Linked DNA regions of Homo sapiens: region 2 is linked to region 1. The links are contacts of gene promoters, found by promoter capture Hi-C in blood cells and fetal thymus (Javierre and others, 2016). All regions are on one chromosome and are shown on one strand. The core of a region is centred on a gene start or on the middle of the fragment in contact, and the rest is flanking DNA. Distances in the headings are between cores, read along the strand shown.

What was found. Contacts are between HindIII fragments. The CHiCAGO score rates a contact against its expected background, and 5 or more counts as called.
Region 2: a contact is called between a fragment that was not itself captured here and the fragment with the promoter of CUL2 in region 1, in 1 of 17 cell types (activated CD4 T cells). The highest score is 6.6, in activated CD4 T cells.

Annotation. Positions count from the first base shown.
Region 1 is chr10:35,088,967-35,091,757 of GRCh38, forward strand. CUL2 (cullin 2) reads right to left here and starts at 1,375. Exons shown (of 21, transcript NM_003591.4): 1 at 1,213-1,375. RefSeq lists silencers at 1,146-1,275, 1,296-1,495, 1,549-1,737 and an enhancer at 1,656-1,795. The HindIII fragment of the contact is 6,346 bases long and covers 1-1,711 here.
Region 2 is chr10:35,619,711-35,622,667 of GRCh38, forward strand. No RefSeq gene overlaps it. Among named protein-coding and RNA genes, the nearest start is that of GJD4-AS1, 13 kb to the left of the region's middle. The HindIII fragment of the contact is 4,542 bases long and covers 1-2,957 here.

The DNA.
Region 1 (2,791 bases), core at 125-2,624:
GGAGTTCAAGACCAGCCTGGCCAACATGGTGAAACCCCATCTCCACTAAAAATACAAAATTAGCCGGGCATGGTGGCGCATGCCAGTAATCCCAGCTACATGGAAGGCTAAGGCAGAAGAATTGCTTGAACCCGGGAGGCGGAGGTTGCAGTGAGCCGAGATCGCACCACTGCACTCCAGCCTGGGTGACAAGAGCAAAACTCCATCTCAAAACAAAAAAACTGTGTACTTCTCTTATCTCACGCGACTCTTTTGGAAGGATCTTCCAGATACTGTATAAGGGCAAAAGAAGCAAAGTATAGCTCATTTGTTCATGTGTCTGTCTTGAAAAGGAATGTAAGATTCTAAAGGGTAGGCAACAGTGTTTTGAATGTTTTTAAGCGATTATTATGTAGTCAGTTGTCAATCAGATCAAAGTGATTATTTCCGATACTTTACTACGAAGGTAGGCTTGGCCAGGTCTAGTTCAAAGACGTTTATGTTGAACAGTCACAATCTATAGCGAACGTTAATATTTTGCATCTTATCTTCAAAATTTAAACGCCCAGGGTACTGGCCTTCAACTGTTAATATTAATCCATGGGGCAAAGATGTGGACTTAACATTAATAACAGTCTGCAATTCACAGATGTTTTATTTGCATGCACGTAATGGTAGGGAATGGTCCAGACTCTCTAGAGGGTAAGCAAGTGCTAGAAAGCGTGTGAGGATCTTATTTCACCAGACCCTAAGGGTTGAGACAAGAAGTCTAGCATGCACGTAGGATACTCCTCCCCAAAGCTATCAATCTTTGCAGTCTGCGGAAACAAAAGTGAAAACACTCGGGGTAAGGATGCATGAGATGCCCCCCCCCACACACACACACAAACACACAGAGTTGTGTATTCGTGTGAGCACGTAAATATGTAGAAGAATACACGCACTCTCACCTTCCCTCCTTCGAAGGAAAATGGGGCCGCGGGAGAGGCGGCCAAGATCGGGTTGGGGAGGCCCGGGATCCAGTCCAGGGGGTGGCAGGGCTTACGGGTCAGCGCTCTGGGGAGCCGAGGTCACTTACAGGATACCATCTTCCCGGGCCTCCCCCTTTCATCCCTCTCCCCACACCTCGTCGCCCCCAACTCCTCTCCTCCGCCCCAGCCCCGCCACCCATTAACCGGGAAGGGAAGTTTCCCGGCGCCTGCAGCCCGGCTCCCCGACCCTCAGCGGGGTTACCTTCTGCAGAAGCAGGGCAAGGGGCAGGGGACAAGGGGAGGGGGAGGCAGCCCGAAGGAGTGAAAGACGAAGCCCCGGCGAGGAAGGTGGGCGGAGGCGGCGGCGGCGGCGGCTGTCAGCTCGCGTTCCCCTGCTCACAGCGCTGCCATTACTGTGCGCCGAGGCCGCCTCCCCGGCCGGCCGCCGCCACCGGCCCCGGAGACGCGGGGGGTGGGGAGCGAAGCCCGGGGAGCCCGCGCGCCGACACTCACCTGTCTCCGCGAGGAAAGACAGCAAAGTCCAAGGCCGCCGCCGCTCCCCGGCGGGACAGGGGCGGTAGGGAGGGGGGGAAAGGGGAGAAGGACGGGCCGATCACGGGATCCGTAAAACAATCGTCCTCCTCTGCCTCCGGCTTTGCCCAACACACACCCTCCGGTCTCCTTCTTCCGCTGCTGCCAAATCCCCCCCGCCACCCGGAAAGCAATGGTACAGGCCGCGTTACGGCAAGCGCAGGGAGCCAAGCTTCGTGTGATTGCGAAAGGCCACGGAAATTAATATTCCAAGTGATTCCTTGCTGGGCTTGCTGTCAATGAGGCAATTGCGGTTCGCTGAGCTGATGGACACAGTACCCACCCACTACCCGTTAGTTCAGGGACTGCTAATAACAATATGTTGGAATGGTGCTTTCAACAGAAGTATGTTTTCCTTGTTTCAGACCTATGTGAATATCCTAAGACACCACAATCCTCTTGCCACACACTTCCATGGGCTTTGCAAATGATCAAAAATAAATTAGCAAAACTACTTTTCCTCTCTGACAAACTCTTTTTCTTGTTAGTTTTTATCTACAGAGAATTTCTTGGACATACATGTATTTTCGATAAAGAAACTTCACATCTTTTTCACTAATACCCCACCTTCACCAAGCCCCAAGCCTATCAGTTTGAAGGGTTTTCCTCCCTTGGAGTTTTAAACGGTAAAGCTGATAAAAATATAGAATTACTCATCACCTCCTCATATATGCAGGGCCACAGAGGAACAAAAGCCCGGCCTTAGTGCTTTTTGCCTTTCATATCCTCAAGAGCTCACCATCAGGGTCTTGTTCATTTATACGATTCAGCAAGCTTTTCCCTCCCATCCCTTCCTTCCAAACTGCACGAACCCTTCAAGGCCCATTTAAAACCCTGCCTCCAGACCTGATCAGTCCCTAGAGCCTTCCTCCTCTTCTAATCTGCTTCTCTTGGTACTTGAAGTCTCTACTCTTTATTTCAGTAAAGGGTTTTTATATACGAAATTCAATCCAACAGTATGTTTCCATTATGTGACCTTTTTTTCCTCCCATGTTTTCCCCCTTTTAATCTAGTGATTCTCAAAGTGTGGTCCCCAGACCTCTGGAAATCCCTGAGACCTTTACAGAGGTCATAAGGTTAACAACTAGTTTGTTAACAATGCAATATGTCTGGTCCTTTTTTTTTTTGGATACAGAGTCTTGCTCTGTCACCCAGGCTGGAATGCAGTGGCGGCACAATCTCAGCTCACTGCAACCTGCACCTCCCGGGTTCAAGTGATTCTCCTGTCTCAGCTTCCCGAGTAGCTGGTA
Region 2 (2,957 bases), core at 179-2,678, 530 kb after region 1:
TCTTTATTAACAGTGAGAGAACAGACTAATATAGTCATATTCACCCAAGTAGAACACCCTGGAGGAGGAGATGGATTGCTGATAGTTTCTGTTGTTTTTTTTTATTTTTACAATTTATTTTATTACCATTATTTTTTAGAGACAGGGTCTTGCTCTGTCACCCAGGCTGAGTGCAGTGGTATGACCATAACTCACTGCAGCCTTGAACTCCTGGGGACACGTGATCCTCCCACTTCAGCCTCCTGAGTAGCTGAGACTATGGGCATGCACCACCATATCCAGCTAGTTTTTAATTTTTTTTTTTTTTTTAGAGATGGGGTCTTGCTATGTTGCCCAGGCTGGTCTTGAATTCCTGGGCTCGAGTAATCCTCCTGCCTTGGCCTCCTAAAGTGCTGGAATTACAGGCATGAGCCACCACGCCCGGTCAGTTTCTGGTGTAGAAATGTCAAGGTGAAGTTGCCTTTGGGGTATTTTGGAGGAGATGCTGAGTAGGAAGTTGGACTGCTGGATCCGAGCACAGAGAGGAGTTTGGCTGGAGACAGATTGTGGAATCATCACACAGAGCCGCTTTCGAGTCCTTGGGTGTGGCTGCCCAGTCTCCCTCTGCTTCAGACAACCCCACACCTCCTTGGTGACCCTAAGGGACAGGGAAAGCAGGTGGCATCAGGAAGGATAGCAGGATCCCTACGATCACTCCCAGGGGGGTGAATTCTTTTGTTTTCCAGCTGAAGAAGCAGATCTTACAGCAAAACTGCCCTGATTTATTTACCCTGTGTGGTGACCAGGTCAGTGGGACAAACAGCAGATCTATGGTGTTCCTGAGGTTCTCAAATATCTGTGCTGACATGTTTCTTTTCTGTTTCTTTTCTTTTCTTCTCCCTTTTTTTTTTTTTTTTGAGACACAGTCTTGCTCTGTTGCCCAGGCAGAAGTGCAGTGGTGCAATCTTGGCTCACTACAACATCTGCCTCCCAAGTTCAAGTGATTCTCCTGCCTCAGCCTCCTGAGTCGCTGGGATTACAGGCGTCCACCACCATGCCCAGCTAATTTTTGTATTTTTAGCAGAGATGTGGTTTCTCCATGTTGGCCAGGCTAGTCTGGAACTTCGGACCTCAAGTGATCCTCCTGCCTCAGCCTCCCAAAGTGCTGGGATGACAGGTGTGAGCCACCACGCCCAGCCTGTGCAGACATATTTCTGTTAAACTCCAAGCTCTTGTCCTGTGTTTCCTCTCCTGATACCACCCAGGTTTCCACCTACAACCTCTGAGGGATGGACCGTCTGGATCTGCCCCAGGTGAGCCTACAGAGCTGCCTCCTTCTCTGACCAAATTAGCCTTTCCCTGGACCCCCGTGTCCCTCCCTTGTATTTCTATGTCATTCCGAGAGGGGAACATTCTGGTGTCCTACACTATCTTATTTGATGGAAAGAGCAGAGTTACTTATTTACTTAACGCTATTTTTGTAAGCATGAATGAGTTGGTGTTAAATGGATTTTTCTTTTTTTTAAATACCATCCTTACGCTGTTGTTTCCATTTCTGTTGTTGTTGCCAGGTTAAATTTACTTTTTTGGGAAATATTGTTTAAATTTCAGCATGCTAATATATACACATACATATATACATATATTTATTTTATTTTATTTTATTTTATTTTATTTTATTTTATTTTGAGACAGAGTCTCGCTCTGTCTCCCAGGCTGGAGTGCAGTTGCGCAATCTTGGCTCACTGCAACCTCTGCCTCCCGGGTTCAAGTGATTCTCCTGCCTTGGCCTCCCAAAGTGCTGGGATTACAGGTGTGAGCCACTGTGCCCGGCTGCCAATTTTACTCTCTAGACGCAAATACACAAGGCGTTCCAGGGACAGCTCGTCAAGTGCTGGGAAGAACGTGTGGCTGGAGGGGATGCCCAGTGGCTGGCCTTTTTGGAGACAATGGTCCAAGCACCAAATTGGTGCCATTCTACATTTGTGGTCTCCAGGAGGGCCTCCAGCACTGTATCCTCACCTCCATGTTCCTAATTCATTCACTGTCCGAGCTTCCCATCATCCATGTAAGCCTCTTCTGCTCTTCTCACACCTTGGCAGGTGGCCTCGCTTCCTATGGACAGAGAAGACATTCGATGGGGACTTCTCTCTGCCCACCACATTCCACCCCGTTTCCTGACTTCCTGTTTACCTTACTGTATTTCTCGCTGCATTCTAACATGAAATGAGGACCTACCATGTACCAGGCAGCGTTTTGTGCCTTGTCTGGACTTTCTAATTTAACCCATCATCACACCCCTTTGAGACAGGCACAGTTTTATAGTGGGACTCCATGTACAGTTGAGGAAACTGTGAATAGGGGATGTTCTGCAAAGTCCAAGTTCCCACTGTAGCCTCCATATATGGTGTAGTGTCAGGACCGGATAGGTGTTCAATCAACAATTTTTTGAGTTTATTTTATTTTACTTTATGTATTTATTTTTAGAGACAGGGTCTCACTCTGTTACTCAGGGTGGAGTGCAGTGGCATGATCTTGGCTCACTGCAGCCACAACCTCCCAGACTCAGGTGATCCTCCCACCTCAGCCTTCTGAGTAACTAGGACTAAAGGTGCATGCCACCATGCCCAGCTAATTTTTAAAAACTTTTAAATTTTTGTACAGACAGAGTCTTGCTATGTTGCCCAGGCTGGTCTTGAACGCCTGGCCTCAAGTGAGCCTCCTGTCTGGCCTCTCAAAGTGTTGACATTAAAGGAGTGAGCCGTCATGCCCAGCCTGAATTAGTTTTGATATAAGAGAAATGCAAAGCCCATGAGGCAGAGGCAGCACACAGGGAAGGTTTGTAGGCAGAAGGTAAAGAGGGAAGCAATAACAGAATAGTTGCGAGAGTTGACAGAGGATCCAACAGAGAACACAGGTCACGGGATTGGCTTTGAGGAGAAGGGAGAAGACTCCTTCAGAGGAAAGGGGCAAAGATG